Regions from separate parts of the Homo sapiens genome. Here all the other regions are linked to region 3. Evidence: promoter capture Hi-C in 16 types of primary human blood cells and fetal thymus (Javierre and others, 2016). All regions are on one chromosome and are shown on one strand. The core of a region is centred on a gene start or on the middle of the fragment in contact, and the rest is flanking DNA. Distances in the headings are between cores, read along the strand shown. Region 1 overlaps FAM162A (family with sequence similarity 162 member A). Region 2 overlaps MIX23 (mitochondrial matrix import factor 23). Region 3 holds the start of PARP14 (poly(ADP-ribose) polymerase family member 14). Region 4 overlaps FAM162A (family with sequence similarity 162 member A).

Evidence for each region. Contacts are between HindIII fragments. The CHiCAGO score rates a contact against its expected background, and 5 or more counts as called.
Region 1: a fragment that was not itself captured here is called in contact with the fragment with the promoter of PARP14 in region 3 in 11 of 17 cell types (activated CD4 T cells, total CD8 T cells, naive CD8 T cells and 8 more); the score reaches 9.9 in activated CD4 T cells.
Region 2: a fragment that was not itself captured here is called in contact with the fragment with the promoter of PARP14 in region 3 in 3 of 17 cell types (non-activated CD4 T cells, activated CD4 T cells and naive CD4 T cells); the score reaches 5.8 in non-activated CD4 T cells.
Region 4: a contact is called between a fragment that was not itself captured here and the fragment with the promoter of PARP14 in region 3, in 2 of 17 cell types (activated CD4 T cells and total CD8 T cells). The highest score is 6.7, in activated CD4 T cells.

The regions. Positions count from the first base shown.
Region 1 is chr3:122,407,730-122,411,166 of GRCh38, reverse strand. It overlaps FAM162A (family with sequence similarity 162 member A), which reads right to left. Exons shown (of 5, transcript NM_014367.4): 5 at 1-1,428. The coding sequence ends at 1,336. Among named protein-coding and RNA genes, the nearest start is that of WDR5B, 6.6 kb to the left of the region's middle. The HindIII fragment of the contact is 626 bases long and covers 1,402-2,027 here.
Region 2 is chr3:122,368,781-122,372,272 of GRCh38, reverse strand. It overlaps MIX23 (mitochondrial matrix import factor 23), which reads left to right. Exons shown (of 5, transcript NM_001017928.4): 2 at 473-598. Among named protein-coding and RNA genes, the nearest start is that of MIX23, 13 kb to the left of the region's middle. The HindIII fragment of the contact is 1,253 bases long and covers 1,353-2,605 here.
Region 3 is chr3:122,678,763-122,682,285 of GRCh38, reverse strand. PARP14 (poly(ADP-ribose) polymerase family member 14) reads right to left here and starts at 1,447. Exons shown (of 17, transcript NM_017554.3): 1 at 1,216-1,447. The coding sequence starts at 1,402. RefSeq lists enhancers at 709-798, 1,340-1,739, 1,164-1,936, 2,340-2,459 and a silencer at 1,050-1,099. The HindIII fragment of the contact is 13,941 bases long and covers 1-3,523 here.
Region 4 is chr3:122,387,670-122,390,913 of GRCh38, reverse strand. The region is part of intron 1 of FAM162A (family with sequence similarity 162 member A); the gene reads right to left. Among named protein-coding and RNA genes, the nearest start is that of FAM162A, 5.1 kb to the right of the region's middle. The HindIII fragment of the contact is 1,112 bases long and covers 1,016-2,127 here.

The DNA of each region.
Region 1 (3,437 bases), core at 465-2,964, 270 kb after region 3:
ATAACTCTCTGAGAACCAGCATGTTGGCATGGCTGTATACAGTAGTCACCCCTTACCCTCTGGGGATATATTCCAAGACCCCCCAGTAGATGCCTGAAACTGTGGATAGTACCCAACCCTGCATATACTATGTTTTTCGTATACATACATACCTATGATACCGTTTATTTTATAAATTAGGCACAGCACAATGCACTTTGAGGCAATTATTAAATAAGAGTTACCTGAACACTAGCACTGATTCCACGACAGCTGATCTCGTAACAGAGACGGCTAGCACATACAGTGTGAATACACCAGAGAGAGGGATGATTCACATCCCAGGTGGATGGAACAGATTGGCAAGAGATTTCATCATGCTACACTGAATGGTATGTAATCTATAACTTATGCATTGTTATAGGAATTTTCCATTTAATATTTTCAGACCTCAGGTAACTGAAACCACAGAAAACAAAGCCGTGGATAAGAAGGGACTACTATAATGGCTTGTCATCCATGAATAATTAAGAAGCATGTGAGAATCAATGTTTAAAATAGAAACCTGTATTCATACCTAAATATGAGACAACTCGATATCCCAAGGTCAAACTGTAAATGAGATATATATGAGGTGCAAATACTTCTAACAGTAATAATACATGAGATTTTTATAATTGAGAAATTTAGTTTCTCAGGTGGTAAGAAAACAGCCAGTTGAGAATTCTAAGGCATGAAGCTAAGAGGTGACTTGTGTTGACCCCAAGCAACTCCATGACGCTGGGATTTCTAAGTCCTTAGAAATTCCTGGCTGGACCTTGTCAGAATGTTTAAAAAACTATTCTCCTAAAAGCCTCCATCTGCCAGCATGTTCAAAGATTATAGAATGTGGTCTGGCTGCTTCTCAGCGCTCGCTCTATTAGGGGGCAGCCTCCCCACCAGTACACCAGGACATTTGAGAAGGCTGGCCCTCCAAGCTGCACCTGGGCCATATACTCAACTGGCCTTCCTTATCTCCTCAAAATGAGTTCGCCTGTGGAGAGGTTACTTTGATAATGGGAAGAGAAGTAAGATATGGTACCTGCTTCTCTGAAGAGTTGGTATTCAAGTTGAAATAAATTGTTTCATTTTTCTCCAAAAGGCTGAGAGGCTACACTTGACTTGGATCAAAACAATAAAACACAGTCATTATTTAAGAAAATTTATTTCTACTTCTACAGCAGAAATACGGAAATGGTACAGGTTTGGGCAAATCATACTTTATGAAATGGATCCTCATACCACATCCTTTTTAATACAGGCACGTTATAACATAATTCCTGGATTTTCAAAATCCAGCCAACACGGATACCTCTGCTACTCTGTTTTGGCCTTCATAGCTGCTTCCTCTTTCAGACGAGCTTTCTTTTCTAAGTTCAAGCTTGTTAAAGTCTCGTGTCTTTGGGCAGCCTAAAGCAAAACAGATTTGAACAGGTGATTTGTATGCTGGTCAGGGGAGGGTGTCTTTACCTTGCACTGATGACAGCAGGTTAACAGAGGCATGGAGGCATGGAGTCCTCTGCTGCTTGCACACTGAGCACGGCAGTTTCCTCTATGTGCTTCAACTTCCTCGTACGCTTCCAAGAACAGCAGCTCATCCACTCAAGCATAAGTAAGAAGTGCCACACCTCTCCTTTTTCTTCCCTTCTGGCCCCTTTCTTTCAGTCTTTATCCTCTCCTTTTCTCTTATACTTTCTTCTCATTCCACCCCACTTCTCTTTTATACTAAATACCTTCTCATTGCCATTTCTATCCCGTTTTTCTTCTTTCACTTTTCTCTGTTGCTGCCATTTCTCCTTCCCCAACTTATCTGCATACTCAGATCCTTCTAGTTCCTCACTTCTCTTTTACCAAAAACATTCAGCTTTGGGAATCCCAGACTTTACCCAAATACTACCATTGATGATTTCCACGAGTATCTGTACTACAATTCCAACCTTTGAGTGGGGGAGGCAACCGTCCTCTTCCCTTGTTTCCCTCCATGTAAACGGTCAGATTTCTATGAAGCTTACATACAGGCCAGTTTCAACACTTTTATACCAAATAGTGAAACTAGCACCCTAAGCTGATATTTCCTTCTATCTGTGTAATTTCATATGTAAAAGAATTGGGTATGTGGCGGGGGGTGGGGGAGCGGGGGGAGAAAGGGAAGTTGATGGTGAGAGCAAAATATACAATGGCTAATTTTTCTCTTCCAAATCACATTGAGTTCAAAAGTTCTCCATTCCAGTAGTATTTATGGAAACAGAAATTCCATAAAACTAAAATGTTACAATTTTATGGTAAAGAACAGGAGAAGAACTCTCTAAAATACACAGCATATACCCCTGGATGATGCTAGAAGAGATTCCAGGTGAATAATTTGCTTCTGGAGTATTTAAACTCAGCTAGTACAATCGAGTATACAAAAGCAATGCAAATTTCTCAGAATCCTAGAAGCTCACAGTCCTGTCCACATGTTTCTGCTGGTTTTAATCTGAGAACTATGCATGAGAGGTCAAAGAGGGAGACAAGAAAAAATGAAGTGGGGTGGGAACAGAGTTTTCAAGAGAACTTCACCCAGCTCAGCACATTTGCCCCTTCGTACTCCCATGAGGTCAGCCTAAAATGGTCAGTATTTCCATTTAACTGCAAGAATGAAGACAGCCAAAAGTACATTTCCTTTTACTCTGGAATTACTGAGGATAAGAAAGTCAGTTAAGAGTGCGTGTATAGAAGGACCTTTTTAGTATCTTAAAGTAGTTGTAAGACATCACTTTCCACATGGAAGCTGTGATATATAGAATTATACATGGTATTAAAAGAAGAATTTGACCAAAGCTGCTGAATATAAAAATAACTATGGCTTAATAGCAAGATAGTATAGTATGAGGTTTGGTAACCTGCAAACTTGGGTCTAGATTTTTATCTTGCCACTTGTTAGCTGTGTGAGTTTGGGAAAACTATTTACCTCTTAGGGTTATGGGGGTGATTAAGTGAGCTTAACAGTGCCTGTTACATAATAAGCACTCAATAAATGGGAGGAATTTTCCTATTACCTGAATTGGGTCTAGGTTCACACTGTGGCTCGTCATTAAGGAGATATGTGGCCTTGGGCAAGTTACTAAAGCTTTCTAAGCTATAGTTTTCCTCATCTATAAATCAGGTCCTAATAATACTTATCTTACAGTGTTTTTGTGAGGTTCAGATGAGATACCAGCTAGAAAAGTACCTGGAATGCAGTGAGTGTTCAATTAGTGATAGCTATTAATTATAATCTGTGCTAAAGATTTCTGGACTTGTATTCCTATGTACTGCTTAGGAGCTGTGGTCCTTAGACACATGGCCCTGTCTGGCTGAGCTTCAAATAAAGAACCCCGCTAAGAAAGCTCACCATGCTGAAGGCAGTTATGGTGAGGGTAAATACACTTGGGTACCAA
Region 2 (3,492 bases), core at 730-3,229, 310 kb after region 3:
CTTTTGATATTATTTTTCTGTTGGTTTTTTTTTTTTTTTTTTTTTTTTGAGAGTTGGAGGCTTTCTGAGGTAAGATGGATCCTTGGAACATATGAGCTATGGTTACTAAGAAAAAATAAAAACTAGTAGTACACTTTATTGGCTGTATGCTGGAGGTGGAAGGAGCATACACTGTTTGCTAAACACCGTGCCAGCAAATGGGATTTCAACATGAGTAAAACAGTCTTAACCCTTAAGACAATCACATTTGAGCCAAGGAGGCAGAGTTGGTGCCCACTGTTAGGATTACCATTACTTAACCTACCTATTGTCCTTGAACATTTTCTTATGGTTGCATGTATTTGGCTTGGTTTCCTCACTCCTGACTTAAAGGATTGTAAAATATCCAAGAGCTTTATTTTTTACTTAAATGCTTATTTTTTGTCACTAACTTTCCATTTGGGTTATATTCTTTTATTTTAAATACATATAGGAATTACTCAAGGTGATGAGGACAATTGATGACAGAATAGTACATGAATTAAACACTACGGTTCCAACAGCTTCCTTTGCAGGGAAAATTGATGCCAGCCAAACCTGTAAACAACTTTATGAGTCTGTAAGTGTATTTTTTGAGTCTTTTGCTTCTTTCATGCCTTTCTTTGCAGGCTGAATAAGAAATCAGTTATCTTGTAACTCGACTGTGACTAAAGGAATGACATCTTTTCTTTGCCTATACCTGATGGTGTATATAAGTTTTGATCTGGTTACTACACATTAAAGAAAATGTGTGACCTTACGCTTGTGAAATCTTACCAAACCTGGGAAGAAATGGTTCTAAAGAATGGGAGCAGTTGTTTTGTAGCCTTTAACTTAAGGAGACCTTATGTACAAAGGAATGAAAGGAGGAGAGTGAAACAGTGAAGTAAAACAGTAACAAGAGCAAGGAATGTGAGCACGTCAGTCCTAAAAAGCCAGGCAGCTGGTACAAGGAAGAATTAAAACCCTTCACACCTTTAAACCTTCTTTTTCTCACTCCTCAGGAAGGGGAATAGAAGCATTTGGCAACTGGGAGAGAAGGAAAGCCAGTGGATCAGTTGTCCTTTCCTGAGGCTTTGGTTTCTCAAGTATACATTTTTCATTGCCCCCCTTTATTTCTCTTTTTTAGTCTCCAAAAGCAGAAGGAAATAATGATGCAGCAAAATCTTTTTTATAGTTTATTTACCTATATTCTTTTAGTAATTTGGAAGCTAAAGTTCAAATGACACTTGCTATTTTAAGCTCTACCACAAGGTTACTGTTTGGATTCATAGTCGTAAAGAAGGCATCCTTAAAACCTAAACTGCCTTTCTCAGATCAGTTTTGGACAAGCTTATCCATGTCAGTTAAATTCAGAGCATTAACTACTGATATTTTTGTTCTGTGTTAAAGTATGTTATTTTAAATGAGCAGGTAAGTCTTCTTTGAGAAAATCATAAGATTGTGGACTTTAATGAGTAGAATTCAGTATTGGGAGTCGACAGGATGGGACCTAGTCCTAATTGGCTATGAGGTTGTTTGACAGTTCACTTTCTTTGGGTACCTCTGTCTGAAGAACTAGAATTTATGGTCACTTTGGTGATACTCCCTCTCTCACCTCACTACTCATATAATCTCCATAATCTATAAAATTGTTTCCATTTACAATCTTCCTATTAACCTAGACGTTTATAGTGTAGTGATTAACAATATGGACTCTAGATCTAGATTAATCTCACATCTGCTACCTCCTAGCTGGGTAACCTTGATTATGTCACATAACCTCTGCCTCAGTTTTTTTTTTTTTTTTTTTTTTTTTGAGACAGTGTCTCACTTTGTCACCCAGGCTGGAGTACAGTGGCAGAATCTCAGCTCAGTGCAGCCTCCACCTCCTGGGTTCAAATGATTCTTGCACCTCAGCCTCCCAAGTAGCTGGGACTACAGGCACACGCTACCATGCCTGGCTGATTTTTTTTGTATTTTTTGGTAGAGATAGGGTTTTCACCCTGTTGGCCAGTCTGGTCTTGAACTGCTGACCTCAAGTGATCCACCCGCCTTGGCCTCCCAGAGTGCTGGGATTACAGGCGTGAGCCAACATGCCCGGCTGTCTGCCTCAGTTTTAATATTTGTAAAATAGTATAATAATGGTACCTAGTTCATAGAGTTGTTGGCGCATTGAATTATAAAGTGCTTACAGTACTAAGTGTTTTGTATACAAATATTGCTGGCCAGGTGCAGTGGCTCACACCTGTAATCCCAACACTTTGGGAGGCTGAGGTGAGAGGATCACTTGAGTCCAGGAGTTCAAGACAAGCCTGGGTGACATGGCGAAACCACATCTCCACAAAAAATACAAAAATTAGCTGGACGTAGTGGTGTGCGCCTATAGTCCCAGCTACCTGGGAGGCTAAGGCAGGAGGATTGCTTGAGCCCAGAAGGCAGAGGTTGCAGTGAGCCAAGATCACACCACCACAGTCCAGCCTGAGTGACAGAGCAAGACCCTGTCTCAAAAAAATGTTTGCTGCTACTGCTATCATTTTTTTTTTAACAGGCCCTGTGAGAATCACAAGTTGTTGTTTTTTATCTCCTTGTTGAATCAGGATAAGCTTGCATACTAAATTTAGAACTCTTCTGTTTTGGAAATCCTGTGTGTGTGTTTGAGTTTTTCTCTGTATCTATATCCTGGAAGGATTCAGCAACATGTATATCAAGTAAAGCTTAATTTTTCAAGTAGCTTTGTGCCAGGGATCGAGCCTGCAGCAGAGTGCCCATACCAATAAGCACCACTGAGTTCCCTTAAGTATTATGTCAGTCAAGAAGCAGAACTCTATGAAATATCCAAGTTGCTCATGTTCACCCTGACTTTAATCCCTGACCCAGCTTCCTTCTGTAGCTGAAGAAGGGATATTTGCCTTTTCAAATAACGCTTCTTCCTAGGAGTTGATCAGTAAGGTTATTATGAAGCACTCATTTTAGAAATTTCAAATCTCAAAAGTATACTCAAGGTAAAACTTGTAAATTTCAATGAGATCTTATTAGAGCATATTCCCTTCAATCTATGACATTTTTCTAGCTTTACATTGTTTATTCCCATGGTAAACATAAAAATCAATACTGAACAATAGAGTCTATGAACTTGAAACAATGTTTAACAAATGCAGATTTTGGGGTATTATCAAAATGTGGCTATGATTATGGAAGTATGTTTGAAACATGACCATGATACTTTAGAATCAAGATGGGAAATAAATGAGAAATGTTTTTATTAATTTGTTGCATTAAGATGGAGGTTATCAAGAGTTGTTCTGTCAGACATCCTTAATTTCAATAAGCACACACAATTGATGCAACCACTAATCTGTGCTTCATATATAAGTTTTCCTTATCAATACTTATATTTTATAATCTTGAAAAGGGCTCTGTCTTGCGAAGGTAAAGGTAGCATTCTTTGTTATTTATTGTAATGAAATCTTCTATACATGACTTAGTTTATAA
Region 3 (3,523 bases), core at 198-2,697:
ATCGATGGTGATGCTGACCTCTGAAGTCAAAGTGGGGAAAACCCTCAAGGAAAAGTGACACCCAAAAGAGAAATGACTAATATCACACAGTTGCCCTTCTGAGCACTCCTTGGTAAAATTAATCCTAGGAAAACATGGTATTTTGTTTTCATAAGGGCCATGAGCCAAGCATATCTCCTGTCCCCCTCCTTCCTTCCTTCTGTGCGCCATTCTTTTTCTGTTTCATTTTTCCTTTTTGGATCCCTGCTTGGGCACTCTAATTGCATGGCCTCAGCCTCAGCCTCCTTGCCTCTCCTCTGGCCCGAATGCTTCTCCAAATCTAGCGACATGAAAGCGGAATTAGGGGTTGACTAGATCCCGATAGGTCATCATCCATAAGATGCCAGTGGAAAAGGTGCCCATTCTGGGAGCTGCAGGTCACTGGCTTCCCATTGCAGACCAGGGAGGCCCTTGAGCCAGCAGATCACCTCTGGGCTCTTGGCCCACCAAGTAGTGGTGGGTCTGTAAGGAGGGAACTTTGCCGACTTTCCCTCCAAAGCTCAAATCTCCCAACCCACAATCACTTCAGAATATCATCCTTGCTCCCAATCTGAGGGCCACTAGAGACTCGGAGAAGAGGCCCCGGCAGGCCCTCGACAATGGGCACCTGTGGTCGATCGACAGCCCCTCCAATGTGGCCGCTGTGACGGCTCTACGTTGACATTCAGGCAGTGTGATTTTAGGTAGCGCCTCTGCCCCTCTCCCAAGTGACCCCGGGACCCCTGGGAATCTCCAAGAACCACAAGGAATCTCTGTGACTTGCCACGTTTCTTAATCAGTTTCCTTCCCCACACAAGAATAATAACAACAGGAAAAGACAGAAAAGGATGATAAGAGGATAGACTCACTTCCACAACAACAACAACAAACAATAACACCACCACAACAGGGAAAGACAGAAAACGATCGAGGGATAAAGAGTTACTTGCGCGGTTCCGCCGCCACCTCCGGGCCGCGCCATTAAGCGCCTGGAAGCGCAGGGCGCCGGGGAACCGCAGCGCCCCGGGTGCGCTCGGAATCCATTCTGCCGCCCCCGCCCCCGCCCCCGCCCCGGCCACCTCCGCTACAGCAGCCGCCGAAGTCGGGCGGGTCACCCTCCCGTGCGTGCCCTGCCGCCATTTCCCTGGAGGGAGGGCAGAGGTGCCCCCTCCTCACCCCACCCCTCGCGCCCCTCACCGTCCTCCGGGTAGAAGAACACCAGGAAGCGGGATGGGCTCCTGGGATCCTGGCGGACCTCACACTCGCCGCCTCCCGACCTCTTCGGGCTCTGGAAGTACATCTGCAACTTGGTGTTCAAGTTCTTCGGGGGGTCGGGGCCCCAGGAGCCCTCGACCAGCAGCGGGAAGGAGCCGGGCACAGCCATCCTCAGCTCCGCTCTCCGCCGGACTGCAGGGGCCGCGCCAACTCCGGGCCGCTAACTTTGACTCTTTCGCTTTCGTTTCCTGGAAAACTCCCAGGCCTTGGTTTCCTTTTGCCTTCAGCCTAACACAGCGGACCCAGGAATGGCAGAGTCATCCCCCGCCCACCTCCCCACCTTCGCATTCGGCCCACAGCCAAGGCCAAAGTAACCCTTTGGGGCTGGCCAGCGGCGCCCCGGGAAGGCGGCCTCAGTTCACCTGTGCTCCACGGGCTCCCACACCCCCTCCTAACTCCGGGCCCCCTACCTGCCGCTCGCCCCAACCGCAGATCAAGTCGGCAGCTTTGGGGCACCAGACCTTGCCCAAACGCAAAGATCATTTAATTTTTGCCGCAAGCCGACCCTTTACAAAAGAATAAAATGACTCACAAACTGTGGCCCCTTTAGAATGTTTGCTGCCTATTTGGGGACTTTTTCAGCAATCATTGTGATTATCAGAATTTTACGTTGCTTTCCCTGTTTTGCTTTCTGTTCCTTGATCTGTTAATACTACATGTCTAGAAATGTGGGGGAAACAATTACACTCACAGTTTTTTTTGTGGAATATTTACTAGGCGCCATGCACTCACTCACTGAACCCTCGCTGAGCTCACGGAGCTATGGTGAACACAGTGGGCAATAGGTGCTCTGGGAAAGAATATACTTGTGTTCCTGGAACAGATGAGGAGTGGCTCCTAGTCCAGCTGTGGCGGCTCAGGGAGGGTTTATAGGGCGGTGACATGTAACCTGATAACCCCAGGATATCAGGGGATAGCCTTGGAGGGTTAGGAAGTGGGGTTCCACGGTGTGATTCACATGTACAGGATCACTCCGGCTGCTGCGTGGTGGCTAGAGTGGAGGCAGAGAGATCAGCCAAGTGGCTACCATAGTGTCCTAAGTGAGAGACAAGGGTGGCTGAGACTGGGGTGCTGGCAGAGAAGAACTGAGAAAACGAGGATTCTCAATTAATAGTGAAAGCAGGACTTGCTGAAGAATGTGAGCCTTGAGAGAAGGAGAAGCTCAAGGATGACTCCATGGTCAGCCATGGATGGCCCGTGCAAGTGGCTGGATAATAGTGGCATCTGCAAGAGGGGAGGCCGAGTGATGGGAGAGAAGCTGGGGCTGTGTGTTTCCTTGACCCCAAATAAAGCAGTGTTGCAAGTCGAGGGGGGCGGGGGGATTATCATTCCAGTGCTACCGATACCTCAGGTCAGAGAAGTGTCTGCTGGACTGCTGAGGAGCGGCAAGCATAGTCTCCTGGTGAGGAGGGAGGAGAGGGAGATGGCAGCTACTGAAGACTGAAAGGGAGGGAAGGAAGTGGAAGCAGAGAGCGTAACACGCTCTTTGCAGAAATGTGACCGTGAAGGGGAAGAAGGAGCCAGGCAGTAGGTTGTGGGGTTACAGGATCGGGCTGAATTTCAGAATGAAGAGAACCAGAGATGGGCCAAATGGTTTACCTGGCTTTTATTTCGGCTCTGTAATAATCCTAAACAGTACACAGATATTTTCTCCTGCCTCCAGCTTGCTACCTGCAGATGGCGCTCATCATCTGATCCAAAACTGCTCTGGACCCCCGCATGCGGAAGACGGGAGGACAAGCGCCCTCAGCCAGACTTGGTGACTGTTTCTCCCCAGGGCCTTTACATCTCATCCCAAACCACAACTAAAATCAGCACTCCTCCTCTCCCACTCTCCCCTGAGTTTGGGGTTCCAGAACTCAGCAAAAAGTTTCCCTTTTTCCTCACATAATTATTGTATAAGAAATAAAGTCAGAGGCATTTCTGGATTACTTTCGAGGATTTATTTAATTATCGACAATGTGTCTTACCACCGAGGTCTGCTTATCATGCCTGGGTGGACTGGGAAGGAGCTATCAGAGGATCAGGATGGCAGGTCTTGAAAGCCAAGGAAAGAAAGTTCTAGAAGGGGCAAATTGTTGAACGGCATTAGCTCCTGCAGTACTTTGTTTTCTGCAAGTTATTTTTGCCTTGTTCACTTGAAGAATGCGTATCCTCTCACAATTCTCTGTTTCCTGTGGGTATCTGCCTTCTGATCCTTTCTTCCTGGGAAGCACGTGTCTTCTCAGGG
Region 4 (3,244 bases), core at 322-2,821, 290 kb after region 3:
TTCTGTGTCTCCAGGGCCCTAGCAGGAAGTTAAGATGAAGCCTCACAGCTGTCTCTAAGGCTCTGGGTGGCAAACGGCTAATCTTAAGAGTAAAGGTTCTTAACTTTTTTATCTATCGAAATCACCTGGGGGACCCTGTGAAACAGATTACTGGACCCAACTGATACAGTCAGTATGGACAGAACCTGAGAATGTGCACTTCTAACAATTGCCCAGGTAATGGTGAAACTTCTGCTATGGGGGACCCATAATCTGAAAACCAGTGCCTTAGAAATATCATTGCTAGCTGGAGGCTATAGTGGTCAGCCAGGGTGAGGCTGGTTGAAGTACCAGCTTCTCTCCTGGTAGTCCCCTCCTTTCCATAAATATCCTTTCCAACCCCATGATAGACAGTGAGGAAAGGTAGGGATGCTTTTTCTTTCTCAGAATCTTTCAAGGTCCTCTTGGAGAAAACCATAGGTGATGTGACTGGAGATATGACAACTCTCTGGGAATCAGAGAATCAATATTACAACCCACTCCCCAGAGTGTCTATCTGAAACTCTCTAGGCCTTAGCTGTTGACCTGGGCTTTGTGACAGAAACAGACTCCCTATATCCGTTTTCTCATCCTTCCCTGCAGGCTTGAAGAAATACCAGTCTTCCTTTATTCTTAAGTAGTAATCCCTCTGCTGAGGGATGTCGTACCAAACTTATCCTTATTTTCCACTGCCTTTTTCCTGCCAAATGTTATCTCCCCCATCTTTAAAATCAAAACTAAAAAACTTATTTTTTTTTTTAGAGACAAGGTCTCACTTTGTCACCTAGGGTAAAGGGCAGTGGAGAGATCATAGCTCACTGTAACTTTGAACCGGGCTCAAGCGATCCTCCTGTATCATCTTCTGGAGTAGTTGGGACCACAGGCAGATGCCACCATGTCTAGCTAATTAAAAAAATTTGTTTTGTAGAGATCGGGTCTCACTATGTAAAAACCTTTGTACCACCAAGTTGTTACACACCATGTTATGTAAAAAGCTTTTAGTAAAACAAACTTTAAATGATAAAAGTAACACTTGCTCATTACAGAAAATTTGGAAGTTAAAAAAAGATGTGAAGAAAAATAAAAGCACTCATAATCATAGCACTTAGGGATAACAACTTGGTGCATTAATATTTCTTTTCAGACCTTTCCTATACTTACATAAAACATATACATTTTTCATAATCAGATAATACTGTATCTTGCTATGTCACAAATACTTTCCAAGATATTAATACTTTTAATAGCTGTATAAAACCCGACACACAGCTATAATCTGAATGTAGTAATTCCCTACAACTTGATTTCTTTCCAATTTTTCAGTGTTATAAGTAATGTTTCAATGAACAGTTCTCTACATACATCTTTGATGGTATTTCTGATTATTTCCTTAGAATAAAATCCTGGAAGTGAAGGGTAAAAGGGTATGAACCCCTTTAAGTTTCCATCTATCTATCTCATCTATCTATCTATCTATCTATCTATCTATCTATCTATCTATCTATCTATCTATCCATCTATACTACTTTCCAGAAAGGCTGACTACTTCTCCAGTAACTTCTACTAGTAGTTACTGAGAATTCTGTCTTATTACTCTACAATAACACTGAAGGTCCACTATGTTGGACAAAGCATTCACTTGTTCTCAACAGGTACTATTAATAAAATTCTTATTTCCTCTTTTTCATAGCTCAAATGATTGAATAAATGGCATGTATCTACTACTTCACTTCACCACCCACACTTTATTTTGCTACAATGTTTCCTTCTCCAATCATTTTACTAAAATTACTCTACCAACATTAGTGACCTCTTTCTAGTCATATGAATACATTTTTTTTTTTTTTGAGACGGAGTCTTGCTCTGTTGCCCAGGCTGGAGTGCAGTGCTGTGATCTCAGCTCACTGCAAGCTCTGCCTCCCGGCTTCACGCCATTCTCCTGCCTCAGCCTCCTGAGTAGCTGGGACTACAGGCGCCCACCACCACGCCCGGCTAATTTTTTGTGTTTTTAGTAGAGACAGGGTTTCACCGTGTTAGCAAGGATGGTCTCGATCTCCTGACCTCGTGATCCGCCCACCTCGGCCTCCCAAAATGCTGGGATTACAAGCTTGAGCCACCGTGCCCGGTCATGAATACATTTTTTTAGATTCTCATCATTAGCCCTTCTGACTCTACTCTTCCCATTTTTGTGGCCATTTGATTCGACTGATCTCATCTTTCTACAAGGATTCAATGCCTCCTTACATTGTACCACCAAATTCTCTCACTTCATCTCCAACCTCTATGACCAATCTTCTTTAATGTCTTCTTTCCCAGTTCCTATTATTTACACCATGTCACACCTCCAAGGCTTAGTCCTTGCTTCTATTCTGTGCTACTCTCTGGAAGGACTCCTCCATTCTGTTTTAAAAATCAACTCCAGACTAATTGCTCCCATATCTTTATCTCCATAACTTTACTCTTCCTTTGCCCTCAGGTCTTCAACCTCTCACAACCTATAACTCAGTGCCACCTAAACCTACTCAATAATGCACCATCTTCTCTGCCAAACTAACACAAATCTTTGATGGCGTTTCTGATTATTTTTCCAACTTTCTTATTTCTGACAATGAGGCAATACTTCTGTAGTCCTCAACATTAAAAAACTTGTCTTTAAGTCCTTCCTTACTCAGTATCTCCAAACTCATCCTTTCTTCAAGACACTTCCTAAATATATTCGTTATTTCCATCATCACCTCACACATCAGTTACTGTAATATCTTCATAGGTAGCAGCAATTCAACTGGTATGTAGTTGCTGAGTTAATTTTCCAGAAATGTTTCTTGTGTTACTTCTCCTGCTAAAAGGTTTTTTTGGTCCAAATTCATTTGGTTCAAACGTCTCCAAACACTACACTTTACCTCCTATTGCCTCCTGATCAAAATCCCTAAGGTAATCTTTCCTCTCTCATATCCTTTTTCAGACTCATTACCGCCCCTACATGTGCTCACAACTCATTACCGCCCCTACATGTGCTCACATCACTCTCACACCCCTTCATTTCAATGGAGCCTTCAAGAATCTCAGAATTCTTGAAGCCAATGGTATATTATATATGTTTGTTTGTTCATTGCAATAAATCAGCCCTAGGAGTGGGGCAGTCCATTCATTTTAGAGCCTTCACAGTATACACACAGGGCATCCATTGTGTACTCAATAAATACTTGGCAAGACCTGGAAAGGAGCA